Regions from separate parts of the Homo sapiens genome. Here region 2 is linked to region 1. The links are contacts of gene promoters, found by promoter capture Hi-C in human tissues and cell types (Jung and others, 2019). All regions are on one chromosome and are shown on one strand. Each heading gives the region's core, a stretch centred on a gene start or on the middle of the fragment in contact. The rest is flanking DNA. Distances are from core to core; before and after follow the strand shown.

The links. The method cuts DNA at HindIII sites, captures the fragments that hold promoters and counts their contacts. A contact is called where the count stands out against the background at its distance.
Region 2: a fragment that was not itself captured here is called in contact with the fragment with the promoter of NAT8L in region 1 in 2 of the 25 tissues and cell types used here (bladder and dorsolateral prefrontal cortex).

Annotation. Positions count from the first base shown.
Region 1 is chr4:2,055,817-2,063,126 of GRCh38, forward strand. NAT8L (N-acetyltransferase 8 like) reads left to right here and starts at 3,511. Exons shown (of 3, transcript NM_178557.4): 1 at 3,511-4,071; 2 at 5,182-5,346. The coding sequence starts at 3,696. The HindIII fragment of the contact is 12,290 bases long and covers 1-5,885 here.
Region 2 is chr4:2,213,617-2,221,099 of GRCh38, forward strand. The region is part of intron 3 of POLN (DNA polymerase nu); the gene reads right to left. Among named protein-coding and RNA genes, the nearest start is that of HAUS3, 25 kb to the right of the region's middle. RefSeq lists silencers at 1,866-2,160, 6,514-6,603. The HindIII fragment of the contact is 4,456 bases long and covers 1-3,966 here.

The sequences.
Region 1 (7,310 bases), core at 2,261-4,760:
GTGGTTTTTGTTATGGGAAGAGTAAATTTGTCTAGAGGTTTTTAAAGGTTTAGTTGAAGGGATAAAAACGAATGATAGATAAGAGTGGATATAGAAAGCTGTGGAAAGAAAGAGAATGGGGTAAACTGTGAGACGTTATAAAAGATTTATTGGGCTGGGCGCGGTGGCTCATGCCTATAATCCCAGCACTTTGGGAGGCTGAGGCGGGCGGATCGCCTGAGGTTGGGAGTTTGAGATCAGCCTGACCAACATGGAGAAACCCTGTCTCTACTAAAAATACAAAATTAGCCGGGCATGGTGGCACATGCCTGTAATCCCAGCTACTCGGGAGGCTGAGGCAGAAGAACTGCTTGAACCCAGGAGGTGGAGGTTGTGGTGAGCAGAGGTGGTGCCATTGCACTCCAGCCTGGGCAACAAGAGCGAAAATCCATCTCAAAAAAAAAAAAAAAAAAGGATTTATTGGCCAGGCATGGTGCCTCATGCCTGTAATCCCAGCACTTTTGGAGGCTGAGGTGGGAGGGTCGCTTGAGCCCAGGAGTTCCAGACCAGCCTGGACAACATGGAGAAACCTTGTCTCTCTCTGAAAAAAAGAAAAAAGAAAAAAGAAAAAAGATTGATTGACATCTTACCTTGCATAGTGAAAGCTGGTTGGGATTGGAGGGATTGGCATTCCCATTGTGCTTGCAGCCCTCCTCCATCTTCCAGACTGTGGAACGCACAGGTGGGATAATAGAAAACCCATCTGCAATGCTGAAACCAGCTTCTAACACTCCCTGGCCTAAGGTGTTTCCACTGTGGTGCTGAACTGGGGTTCTGCCCTGTTTGGAAAACATCAGCTTTCTCTCTTTGAAATAATACCAGGAAGGCCCTGTGCCTGGATGAAGGAGCCTCCAAACCAGCTCCCCTTAAAGGCGATATTCTTCATTATTGCCGAGACCCTATAGAGCTTCTCACTGCACATTCTAAATTAATTAAGGATTCTGTTAACGGCGAGTTCTCAGGAGATGAAGACATGAAAGTTCAAGGTCTCCAACCTGGAGATTTCATGAGAAAAGCATCAAATATAGGACTTCCTCCAACCACAATAGATGGGACCACACCAGGCAGCCTCGCCAGAGAGGTCGTTTCCATCACTGGAGAACTTCAACATCTTGTTCTTCAGGCCAGGACCAGAAGGAGACAAAATAGGTATCTGGTTACCTTCAAAAATAGAAGCACTCTTCAGTTCTAGATTTCAAATTGTTAATAGTTGCCCTTATTTGTGTCATTTTTTCTTTTTCTTTTCTTGTTTTTGAGGCAGAATCTCAGTCTGTTGCCAGGCTGGAGTACAGTGGCACGATCTCAGCTCACTGCAACCTCCGCCTCCCGAGTTCAAGTGATTCTCCTGCTTCAGCCTCCCAAGTAGCTGGGATTACAGGCGCCTGCCACCACACCCGGCTAATTTTTGTATTTTTAGTAGAGGCGCAGTTTCACCATGTTGCCCAGACTGGTCTCAAACTCCTGACCTCACGTGATCCACACGCCTCGGCCTCCCAAAGTGCTGGGATTACAGGCATGAGCCACCACGCCCGGCCCATATTTTTCATTCTTAAATTGATTAGGCTTTGTGTTTCTAGATGTCCAAAGTCAACCAAAAAACCCCGAGGATGCTAGCTAGATGCTCAGAAGCCATCCGGTATGCGTGGCTCCTTCATAGCAGACGGCCTGACAGACCCCGTGCCAATCAACCTTGGCCTTGAGGCCTCACGAAGTTCTTAAGCGCCCACCGCACCTGTCCTCTTTCCCCCCATGCGGGGTGAGATGGCCCGGGAATGAGCCTTCCCAGCAGAAAAACTTACATCTAGAATGTCGATCATCACTGCTTTGAGAAGAGAAAATTTTTGATCAAACACGAGAAATGAGAAAAGAAAAATAGCCGGAGCTATGTGGGATTCTCAAAGATTATCTGGCCCAGAGACACCTGAGTACAGGGCCTCAGTCCCGCCTCCCCACTCACGCCCGGGGCAACTGCTGGAAGGCATTTTGTTCTTTCTTTTCTTTCCTATAGTGTCCGCCTGGCCGCCTCAGCGTCATCTTCATGTTCCTGGAATTTGTGACAAATAATGTACACCAATCAATAGCTTATGCCATTTTAATGCAAATTCTTGGTGAATTTAGGAGCTGCGTCTTCATTTTTCCTTTAAAAACGCACTTGCAACTGCTGCGAATGAGAGCGCGTGCATTCAGACCAACCTGAGTCTGTCCTTCCACGCTGCAGTCCTCAAACTTGGCCCCAACAAACTATTTCTATTCGTTTTGCCTGTTTTCTCCTTTAGGTTGAAAAGCTGACAGCGGGCCCCAGACACTGAGGGGGCGCCTTCCCAGCTTGGCTTCCCCTCCCCCCCACGCCCCCACCCCGTCCCCTGCCCCTCTCCAGGGCCCGTTCTCTGGCGGACGGGGCTGTGGACCAGTTCAGCCGCCCCTCCCCACCCCACCAGGGCGCTGCGGCCTCACTCCCACGTCCACGGGCAGGCCCAGCCCCTCCTGGCCTTCAGGTGACCTCAGCTGCCCGGCTGGCCCCAACTCCACCGCACAACGCAGACTGCGGGTCCCCAGGCCTGGACCCCTGGCCCCGTCCCGCCCGCGCATGTCGGGGAAGCTCTGCTCCGGCAGCCCTCGGGGTGGTGCTGGGAGGTCGCGCAGAACTGAAGGGGGCTAGGTTCGAGAAGCGCCGAGGATGGGGTCTGCGACCGCCTCCCCGCACCTGAGCTTCTCCGCCCCAGCCTGCGGCGTCTGCAGGTCCTACAAGGCGCAGAGCCCCCGCTGCACCTGCACCGAGGCCACGGGGCGCATGCGCGGCCGCGGGGGGCGGGGGCCGGGCCGGGAGGGGTCCTGCGGGCCCCGCATCCCCGTGCCCACTGCGGGGCTCGGACAGGGGGGCGCCGCGCCAGGCCGCAGACCCCGCCCTTCCGCGTCCCCACTCCGGCTGCCCGTGCGGCTCCGGACGAGGCTTCCCGGGGGCTCCGGGCCGGGGCAGCCGCGGCGCCCTCTCCCCAGGTCCACCGCGGGCGCTGCTTTCAAACAAAGGCAGGAGACGGAGCGGGAGACGCTGCCGTGACTGCTCCGGGCGGCCGCGGAGGAGGAGGAGGAGGACGTGGCGCCGCGATCGCCAGCGGTCGGGCCCGGGGTCGGGGCGCTCCCAGGCGCGCGGCGTGGGAGCGGGGGGCGGGGCGGGCGGCGCCCATCACGCGCTCCGCGGCCGGGTCCCGAGCCCCGCCGGACGCCCCCGGGCCAGGAGCCCCCGCCCGCGCCGCCGCCCCCGCCCGTGCCGGGCCCCTCGCGCTGCCCGGCCGCCCCGTCGCGCCCAGCGAGCCACCCGGCGAGGCGGGGGCGGCGTCTCCCCCACCCCCGCGATCACATGGTGACCCCCGGCAGCCAATGCAGTGGACGCTAGGACCCTGCGGGCCGCGGGCGCCGCGACTGCACCGGCGCCGCCGCATTATAAATACTTCTCCAAAATGCGGCGCAGCTCCCTGCGCGCGCCCCGGCCGCCCGCCGCCTCCGCCCCGCGCCCCTGAGCTGCCGCCGCCGCCGCCGCCGCTGCCGCCGCCGCCGCCGCCGCCGCGGGTCCGAGGGCGCCGCGCCCTTGCCCTGGGCCCGGCCGTGCCCGCCGCCGCCCGGCCGCGTCCCCGCTGCCGCGCCGCCCGGCCGGGTGCATGCATTGTGGGCCTCCCGACATGGTCTGCGAGACGAAGATCGTGGCCGCCGAGGACCATGAGGCGCTGCCGGGGGCCAAGAAGGACGCGCTGCTCGCCGCCGCCGGCGCCATGTGGCCCCCGCTGCCCGCCGCGCCCGGGCCGGCCGCCGCGCCCCCCGCGCCCCCACCTGCCCCGGTGGCTCAGCCTCACGGCGGGGCGGGGGGCGCGGGGCCGCCGGGGGGGCGCGGCGTGTGCATCCGCGAGTTCCGTGCGGCCGAGCAGGAGGCGGCGCGCCGCATCTTCTACGACGGCATCATGGAGCGCATCCCTAACACGGCCTTCCGCGGCCTGCGGCAGCACCCGCGCGCGCAGCTGCTCTACGCCCTGCTGGCGGGTCAGTGCGCCGGGCCCCCGGCTGCCGCAGTCCCTCGGGCCGGCGCGGAGCTCCCCCGCCCCGGCGTCCACGCGGACCCCGCGCCCGGCTCCCGGGGACCAGCCTGGGAAGCCCCCCGCTTTCTGCCGCGCCGGGCCCCGCGCAGGGCTGGCTATGGGCGTGGGGATGGGCGCAGGGCCCCGAGCGGGCCGGAGCCGGGGAGGGTCCGGGGTCCGCACCTGCGTCCCCGCCGCGCAGCCCCCCACCCCCACCGCCTCCCCTGTCCCCTCCCGGGCATCCTGGGTGGGGGCGGGTGCCAGGGCAGGTAGCGCCCGCCGCGGCTGGGCCCCGGCGAGTGCCTAAATATAATCTGCGGGCGGGGGAGGCCGCCTCCCGCTCGGTGCTAATTTATGAGGGGAAGACAGCCGGCGCCGCGGGGGGTGCGCGCGCCTGGCACAGCCGGGGCGGTCGCAGAGGGCGGCCCCTTCAGCGTCTTTGGGTGCCCTTCCCCTCAGAGCTTCCTGCCGGGGTGAGGGGGTTCGCTCCCATTTTACAGATGAGGCGCTTGAGGCCGCGTAGGGAGGACGCGACTCCCCCAAGGTCACGGCAGCCGAAATGCGGCTGGAAGCGGTGTGGGGCCTCCCTGCCCTGTCCCTGCCCTCAGAGCTCCCGGACGCTGGCCAGGAAGGGCTCTTGCTGGGGCCCTGGGAAGAGGGGGTCCTGGAGCCCGAGGCTGGAACGTGGGACACCCCCCTTCCTCCTCCCCCCTCCCCCCTCCCCCGCGCGGGGCCTGGTCTGCGGGGCAGCTCCCTGCCAGGATCTGCCCACCTTGGCTTCAGTAGGCCAGCGTGGGCAGAGTCCTTCCCGGCCCGGCCATCCCGAGGGTGTCCTGCCGTGTTTGGAAGCTCAGAGACCCGCCGAGGCTCATTCCAGGCGGTGGGGGTGGGTGGGGTGGCTGTCTTCACCGCAGGAAGCTTGGAAATAGGGAGAAGTAGAAAGCACCCGAGATGACCCCGGCTCCTCCACCAGGAGCGCGGCCGGGCGCGGCGTCCCTAGCGGGCTTCGCCGGGGTGGCGTCTCTGGGGCCTGGGGACCCCCGCCGCGCCGCTGACCCGCGCCCTCTGCCCCCAGCGCTGTGCTTCGCCGTGAGCCGCTCGCTGCTGCTGACGTGCCTGGTGCCGGCCGCGCTGCTGGGCCTGCGCTACTACTACAGCCGCAAGGTGATCCGCGCCTACCTGGAGTGCGCGCTGCACACGGACATGGCGGACATCGAGCAGTACTACATGAAGCCGCCCGGTGAGTCCCGCTCCCGCCGCTCCCCGACCTCCGCCCCAGACAGCCCTCGGGGGCACGCACTCCAGCGACCTCAGGGCAGGCCTGGGCGAGGGCCGGCGTGGGTGGGCCTGAGCCGGGGCCCCTGTGACCTGAGCCTTCTGGGTGACCGAGGCCTCCGGTGTCAGCGGGGCTGGGGGAGGCACGGCCGGTTCCTCCCGCTGAGTGACCTGAGCTGGCCCTGCGACGCAGTGGCTCCACCGTTCCCTGCTGTGGATGCGTCTCCCTGGCGCCTGCTGCGGTGGGGCAAGGGCCGCTGGGCTCTGTGGGTCCCATCTGGTGTGCCTTGCGGGGATGGGGTTGCCTGCAGTGCCAGGGTCCTGGGGGGAGAGGGCTTGTGTGGCAGGGGCCGGGGACCCTATTGGGGCACAGAGGATGGGGTGGGGGCAGGGGACCTGACCTTGAGCCTTGGCCTTCACTTCTGGCCTGATCGCTGGGCCGCTTAGCTGAAGGGTTTTGTCCCAGCCTCTGTGGCCTTCTATAGCTGGAGGAGCTGGGTCTGGGCTCTAGGGGGGGTGGGGGTTGTTCTCCACCCTCGGGCTGGCCCCCAGCCGCTGAGCCACACCGGTTCCCCCATGCCGGATGCCGCAGGGGTGAAGACTCTGCTCTCTGGGGTGGGAGGCTCTCTGCGATCCTGGAGCGTCTGTAGGCCAACGAGAGGGACAGAGTGTGGCCCAAAGGGTTGGGCAGGGTCTGTCAGGAGCCCGGTCAGTGTCAGGGGAGGGGCAGTGTCTGGCACCGCTGGCTGCCATGCTCCACCCCCGCGCCACGGCCTTGGTGCCTGCTGCTCTCCCTGACCCTTTCCTAAACCCAAACAGAGCATCTGAGCAGCCCCTGAGCCCTGGCCAGCCTCTGCTTGGGAGGGGAAACGGGCCATGAGGAAGCACAGGCCACAGCAACACAGGGGGCTCCGGTGGGCACACGGGGCATGGCCCTGCTCCCTCTGGGCCGTGGCCTCCCTGGTGTGAGGGAGTGGAGGGGTAGCTGGCAGGGCTGCAGGAACACCCCACGAGGGCAGAGGCTGGATAGCTGCTGATGGCCCGTGGTGGATTCTGGGAGCTGCTTGTGCACATGGGGAAACCGAGTCTTGGGAGGAGTGAGGTGTGCCCAGGGCCACATGGTGCTGGGGGTTGCTACTTCTGGGATGGCCCTGATCTCTCGTCTTGCCTGGGTAGGTAGAGGCAGAACCCCTGGGTGGTGGGCAGGCCAGCTGGTGGGAGGGATACTGGTCCAGGATCCCCTCCTTGGAGGTAGAGATGCTGTGTGGGTAGGGAGATGGGGGGTTGGGTGTGGGAGACCCCAGGGGCTCCAGGACAGGGGGCCGAGGAGGGGCAGCCCTCCTGGGAACCCTGGAGCTGCACAAAGCTTGGAGGGCCCAGCTGCTCGTGTCTGTGGCGATGGCAGCGGTGCCCAGTGGCTCCCCCCCACGCTGCTTCTCCTTGAAGGGCCTTCAGTACCCCTTTAGCTGCCTGCCAGGCCTCAGTGTCCAGCAGTGAAGGAGACAGAGGTCCCCTTCATGGAGCCAGCAGGCTGGTGGCTGTGCAGAGGGGCAATGGGGAGGGATGGGAGGGCTTCCCGGGGCTCGGGGCAGGTGCAGAGCCTCCTTGAGTAGGAGGCTGGATGGGCCACAGGCAGGCTGTGTGGCCCTCCACTGGCCAAACCCTTGGTCTTCAGAGAGGTCTCTGGGTGCCACCTCTGCCTTTGGCTGCTGGAGGTGGCTGGGCTTCCCCTGTGGCCAGTGCCTGCAGGTTCCCTCCCACAACCGCCCCAACCTGCCCCTGCACCTCTCCTCCTCCCCTGCCGGTTCCCCTCCCCCACGACCGCCACCTCCTGGCTTCGTGCCTGACTCGAGGTGAGAATTGGGCCGTGCTGTGGATGGGGTGATGGCCTGGCCACTTGGCCTACTGCCAGGAGAGGCCGGGGCCAGA
Region 2 (7,483 bases), core at 489-2,988, 160 kb after region 1:
GTCTGTGCTCTTAACCACTGTGACATACATTTCCTCTGCAGGAACAATAACAACCTGAAATGCAAATAGGGGAAAATATTTCACTTACAATATAAAAACATTATACTTAGGATAAATATAACAAAAAAGATACAAGGCCCTCAATGATGAAAATGTAAAATCTTATTAAATGGCATAAAAAAAGATCTGTACAAATGAAAAGACACAGCATTAGGATATAGATCACAAAATGTTTAATTCTTCTAAATTTAAGGCAATTCCAATTGGAGACCCTACAGGGATATTTTAATTTAATAAAATAATTTCAAAGTACGAAAAGACAAGAAATGTAAGCTTAGGCCGGGCGTGGTGACTCACGCCTGTGATCCCAGCACTTTGGGAGGCTGAGGTGGGTGGATCACCTCAGGTCAGGAGCTCGAGACCAGCTTGGCCAAAATGGTGAAACCCCACCTCTACTAAAAATACAAAAATTAGCCAGGTGTGGTGGCAAGCACCTGCAATCCCATCTACTTGGGAGGCTGAGGCAGGAGAATTGCTTGAACCCGGGAGGTGGAGGTTGCAGTGAGCCGAGATTGCGCCACTGCACTCCAGCCTGGGTTACAGGGCAAGACTCTGTCCTGGGAAAAAAAAAAGTAAGCTTAAAAAAGAGAGAGAGAAAAGACCTCTAGAAGAGAACAGACAACCCAGAGACTGATCCCAAGACTTTATATACAACAAAGATAGTATTTCAATTCAATAGAAAAGGATAGATTAATTAATAGGGCTGGTATAACTAGCACCACATCAAAAAGAAAATAAATGCATTGGGAAAACTATTTGGAACAAAAATGACAAAGGGTTAACTGCTATATTATACAACAAGTTCTCATACATTTACAAGATAAGACAAACAATTCAACAGAAAAATGAGCAAAGAATAGGAAGAGGCAATACACAAAACAGAAAACCCAAAGAGGAAACAAATACAATACTCAGGGAAACGCAAATTAACTATAACTGGAAACACAGGGGAAGAGGTAGTCTCATGTATTGCTGGTAAAAATGTAAATAGACTCTTTCTAGAAGGCAAACTGTCAAGACTTATTAAAATTAATAATGCATACATCACTTTGGGAGTTGGGTGGAGAAAGTGACCCACAGGGAGCTCAAGATGGGCCTCTGGGAATGCTAGTTATGTTTCCTGAACTGGGTTTGGGTTTGTGAAATTTTGACCTAAACTAAACTTAGGATATGTGTGCTGTTTTATATATATACACACACACATATACACATACATATACATATATATGTATATACATATACATATATATGTATATACCTCAGCCATATATATATGAGAGACAGAGTGCTCTTGCCTTAACAAAAACAGATAGGAAATAATATCCATCATCTAACCAAATAATCTCTAACCAAATAATCTCACTCTTGGCTGTTTCACAGAAATATATGCAACAGTAAACAGGTTTAAACCAAAATGTTTATAGCAGTATTGCTCATTATGGCAAAGGACTGAAAATAAAGTAGATACCAATCAGAAGAAAACTGAGGAATAAATTACATAATATCCACATCATGAAATACATAGCCACTAAAAAGAATGACCTTGTTAAAACATAGATTGCAGGGGGGAAAATGACTCCAGCTATAGTGGTTGACTGAAGATGATGACCTCATTTTTAAAAATAATGACCAAATCTCCCCGCTTATGCACACGAAGATGTTACGCACATAACACTCGGGTACCCTGGGAGACCACCTCTGTGATGAAGGTTTGCATTTGAAAAGGTGATTGGAGAGTGAAGGAAGCAGAATCCAACCAAGGAAGACAATGGCTAAGATGCAGTCACTCAAAGGCCTGCCCTGAGCTGAGCATGGTCCTACAGATGTGTCTCCCAATGGGTCAAGACAGCTGGGCTTTTATACCCCTGCACAAACTAGTCACTGGACCAGTCACTCCTGGGGAAGGGGTGGGCCCTTGGGCAAAGAAGTTCTTTGCAGCCAGGCAATCAGGGAGGGGCTGTCCCAGGAGCAGGGACAGTGCTTCAGTACTAAAGGGGCATATGGGAACCACAGTGCTTGCTACACTCCACACTGCACTGCTCATAGCCACTTGCTTCAGGGACGTTCTGGGAGCAGCTCCTGTAGGATTCTGGCGGGCCTTTTCCTTGGGAAATTTATAAAAGGAAGGCACTGGGATGAACTACATCTTGCTGCAGCTGGCCTCAAGGTTGCAAATTACATTCATCTCCCTCCTCTACTGCCCATGCTAACTCCTCACCCTTGCCTATCTCCTCTGCTGCTCTAGGTGGCTTAGCTTACCTGATCAGGTAACCCAAACCCTCATCCCTGAGAGGTAAGCCCCTGGCCACCATGCCCTTCTCTGGCCATAGCCCCAGCATTTGCCATCAAATTTGGGCAGGGGACCATGAGGTGGCCAATCACATCACCTGGGTGCTTCCCTGCCCCCAGTTATGTAGTAACAGCTCTACCTCCACCTGACGCCCACGGTCAGCCACCCCAGAAGATGGAAATTACATTCCTTGCCAGCCAGTCTCTTGGCACAAGGAGCTCAAAATGACCAGACAGCAGCCACAGCTGGAAATTAAATGGCGTTCTTCCTGTGCCCCTGCTGGAAAGGTTTTCCCTTTGAGAGTCAAGACCTTTAAACCTTAAGAACCCAGAGGAGTGTGAGGGAGAAATACAGATTTCTAAGTGGGTCACTGGGAGTGATGACTTTCACCTTTTGGTTCCCAGACCCATTTATTACACAAACCAAGGACACTGCACCACGTACTGGTTAGTGATTTGCAGTGCAGACTGCACCCTGGAGGTGACTGCTTCATCACAGGTGTCACCTCCAGGCTGCACACGAGGTGAGCTGTGCCTTCCACAGACCATCCTGCTGCTCCATCAGGCTGGCAGCTTCTTGGTGTGTGGCTGTGAGGGAGACAGTGAGTCCTACTCTCATGTGCCCACTGCTGCAGTTCCTTGGCTGAGCGCAGGATCCTGTGGATCAAACACTCTGTGAAACTTGGGTGATGGAGCTGACTGAATCCATGAGAATGGGAAAGGCAAACCCATGCCTGTAACGTGTGTTGGTTCTGGCCAAGATGAATCACTGTACCTTCTAGGGCACAAGGGGTTCAGTGTTGTCAAATGACTGTTTCCCTCCAAGGAAGGTACAACTGGGGACTCAGTGTTTGGTCTCTGTTGCTGGAAGATTGGATGTTCTGCAGAGAAATAGCTAGGTCAGCTCTGGTGAGGGGGAGCCCCATGCTATGGGCCATGCACAGCATCTACCCACCCCATGATTACTCCATGAGAGAGCCCAGTGTGCCAGCATGGGCGCAGCAGATGGCAGAGGCTAGATGTCAACTGGCCAAGTCATCCTATTAATGTGGTGGTTTGGTGTGTCCCCATGGTGAATGTTCTTGGGTGGGAAGTACTTCGTGACTGTTCCCACAGATCCCTCCACATGCCTTACTCCAGGAACTCCCTGATCTTCCAATCTTTCTCATTCCAGGTACCTGAGCAACCTGTCAAGCCACTAACCGCTGCCCAAGAGTTCCAAATGTGTTAACACTGGGGCCACTTCTCCTTCCACACAAAGTAGATAGTCAAGGGGCACCACCCAACGTTCTACCCATTGGGTTTCCCTTGAGCACTGTCTTCCAGGGCTGCCTAAATCAGGCTGTTCAGAGCCCACCCACCATGAACCAAGCTCTAACTTTTCCTGCCTCCATCAGCTGGTCTTAAGGCTGCCCCCGTCAGAAGTACCAGTGCCAGCACCAATGATGTCATGGGTTCTGGGCCACATGAAAAGCTTGGTTGTGCCTGCTTGTACCTAGTACTAAATGAGCCACTTCCAACTTGCAATGGACAGCTGCATGCCCACCTCTCAGTGGGTCTGACAGAACCAGCTCATGCTGGCAGTTCTGGCTCATGGTCACTTGATGTCACCATGGCCTCACGCTCCATCTCTACCAGGGCCCAGTAGCATGACAGTTTTGTTTTTGAAAAATTTATAATTTGTTTCTGCAGATAGCATTGCCTTGCTCCAGAGTTCTAGGAGTCTGCATTGAGATTCTTCTGTTGGGGCTTTGCCTTAAGCTTCACATGGCATCTTTCCCCACTACAGATACCTCTAACATCACAAGGTCTGTTGGGTTGGAAGTCCAAGTAGCTGAGCCACTTGCTTCACAGCCTAGGCCTCTTACAGGATGCTTTCCTATGCAGTATTCCCAATGTGGAATATGCTGCCTCCACTCCCTAAACCCAGAGATGCCTATCAGGTGTTATGGTTCACTCTTAATGGTTATGTGGTTAACCACGTTGCAGGATGACTCGACCAGTTAACATCTTCATTCTTAATGCTTCATTCTTAAAAATGCAGTAATTTAGCCAGGTGTGCACTTGTAGTCCCAGCTACTCGGGAGACTGAAGCAGATCACTTTGACCCCAAGAGTTTGAGGCCAGCCTGAGCAACACAGTAAGACCCAGTCTCTTGGGGAAAAATAAAAAATAAAAAAAGGTGGCCAGGCGTGGTGGCTCATGCCTGTAATCCCAGCACTTTGGGAGGCCAAGGCAGGCGGATCATCTAAGGTCGGGAGTTCGAGACCACCCTGACCAACATGGAGAAAGCCCGTCTCTACTAAAAATACAAAAAAAAAAAAAAAAAATTAGCCAGGCATGGTGGCGCATCCCTGTGATCCCAGCTACTTGGGAGGCTGAGGCAGGAGAATCGCTTGAACCTGGAAGGCGGAGGTTGTGGTGAGCTGAGATTGTGCCATTGCACTCCAGCCTGGGCAACAAGGGTGAAACTGCCTTAAAAAAAAAAAGGCACTAATTTGTCCTTTACTTGCAAGGGGATATCCTACCTATCCTCAGACCACTGAACTTCCAAAAACTTCATGGTTGTGGTGGGCCCCAGAATATCTGTGTGCTTATCTCCCATGTTTTGGACAGCAAGACAGCTAACAAACTTGCCATTTCTTGCTTATGCTGATTGGCATGATGTCATCAAAACAGTGGGTGGCGGGATAACATAGCACTGGGGCAAGGTGCAAATTTATATTGTCCATTCAGAGTGAATATTTCTGCAGGGATGGAAAAGAATGTGTTCACCAAATCAATAATTGCATTTCATATACCTGAGGCCTTGTTAATTGCATATGCCACATCCAGCCCACCAGCTGTCATTAGGGCTATAACTTGGTCACAACTATTTGTGGTGTCAATTGTTATTCTCCAGGATCTGACTTCTGTGAGCACCTACCTGGTGAATTAAATGAACATATGACAGGGACCACCCTGTGCCCTGAATCCTGTAGGGGTTTAAGGATGGCACTAACTTCTGCCATTTCTCCTAGGTTGCCATATTGCTATACTAATTCACTATCTTTGCTGGGAAGGCAGTTTCAGCGTCATCCACTTGAGCTTACTCACTAGGAGAGCTCTCATCCTCAGGCCAAGGAGCCAGTACCTGAGGGTTCTTCCAACAGTCTGTTCATTCCAAATAACATGTGGGGACTTGGAAAATGGCTTCGGAGTGAGCCCTCCCATTATAGTGTAATCTGGGCCAAGGTTCCATTTATTGCTTGAGTCCTTGCGCCTCTGACGGAGAAACCATGATGATACTTTAGGTCTCCAGGTATCAATATCATATGAATGTTTCAGTATCCCTTTCCCCCTTGTATAAGTTCCCAGAGTAAATGGCCACAGGTTTCCCTGGCGGAAAGACAGGAAAAATAACTGCCATATACACTCACTATGGTGTTGCATAATCCTTCCTCCTGGGGACCTGGCCTCTCCTTCAGTCAGTTGGTTCCAGGTCTGAAGTCACTTTACGAGAACTGTATCTACCCTGCTTCTGACAGGCAGCACCACCTGGCCTCTATGTCAGGATCCTATCTCCCTGACTGTTATCAGGAGGCATCTCCTATTATCAGCCCTGGTCTATAGCAGACACCACTGAGATTCTCAGTGAAGCCGATGCTCCCCACTCCCTCATCAGCTTTCATTATTGCTTCGGTAAATAGAGCATCCAGAGCGCCCTTCTGCAGAACAATGTTACCTGCTGAGTTTCCCAGCCCTCCACAATATGGCCATTCTAGCATGTCCACCTCTCCTGGCTTTTCATGCCTTCTTTTACCATCTGCCCTGGCAGTTCTAATCTTTCTCCTTCACTTAGTATGAACCCTCTCCTACAAGGAACTAAAAGCCATCCTAGCAGTATGTTGGCACCACCTCTTGGAATCTTCATCGGGTTGTCAAATCCAGTGTCTCTGAAGTGATCCCGCATAAATAAACTCTCCCTTATCCAACCTTAGTTCCACCTGCCTTGATCCAGCACCCTCAGACCCAGCCCACCATAGGTACTCTCCCAGGCCTGCTTGTATATGGCCAGTTAGGTCCTGCAGTTCCTTTGGAGTAGAATCTCTTTCGTCCCTGTGCCAGTTATCAACATACTGTCTCCCAGCTACAAATTCGCCTCTCAGCTACAAATTCACCCCTCGTTGCACCCCACGCCCTACAGAAAATACACCTCCTTTGCCACCTGGCACGATGTTAAGCTCCGTCAGCAGAGGGTGCTAGAGGGACGCTGTCAGAGATGAGGCCTCTGCTGTGCTTTGCTTTGCTTTCCTTTCTTCTTGCTCCTGCAGCTCTTAACCAGTGTACTAGACACCCATGAGCAGCCCCACTGGCCACTTCCCAGCTACTTCTGCAGACATTCTAGCCAGCCCTCCAGCAAGTTTCAGTCAATCCCCGTGGGCAGCTTCCTACTGAGTTTCACAAGCACCCCTACCAACTTCTCAGTGAGTTTAGTGATACCCCATAGGTGGGTTCCCACTTGCCAGACTGACTGGCACTTCAGCCAACTTCTTGGCCACCCAGTGGGCTACATCCACAACCTCTGACAGTCTGAATCTCGGCCTTGAGGGGAGAGACCCTGCTAAATTTGTCCCTTCCTTCGGCACCCCACTTCAGCCCTAGCAGGGGAGGCTGCTCCCTGTCTGCTCTTGCTGGATTCTTTAGAGTTTTCTCTAAAGCTATTCCTGGTAGCTACTCCTGCTAGTTAGTAATGCCTTAAACATTCCCTGTTCAAATTACTCTACGGTTTCTGTCCCTTGACTGGACTGTAACAGGCCCAGTACTTTTCGACAGGGTTATTTTGTGACTTAATGACCAGGAGAGGAGGAGGGGGCCGCAAAAAAGAAAAAGCCTGAACAAAACATTTATGAATCTTTTCACAATTTCTTATGAAATGACATACGTATGCATGTGTATAACTATACAAAAAGATCTGGGGAATTATGAACTTTGTTTGTTTTTTCTGTTTCTCCCTCCCCATCCCAAAAACTTCTCCTGAAGTATTATTACATAATGACGGAGCATGTCTTATTTTTCAAGACAGAAGCTCTCCATTGTTCTCCAGCAAAGGTGGGGGGAAGCGCTCAGGGTGGGGCCATTTCTGCAGGTCTCA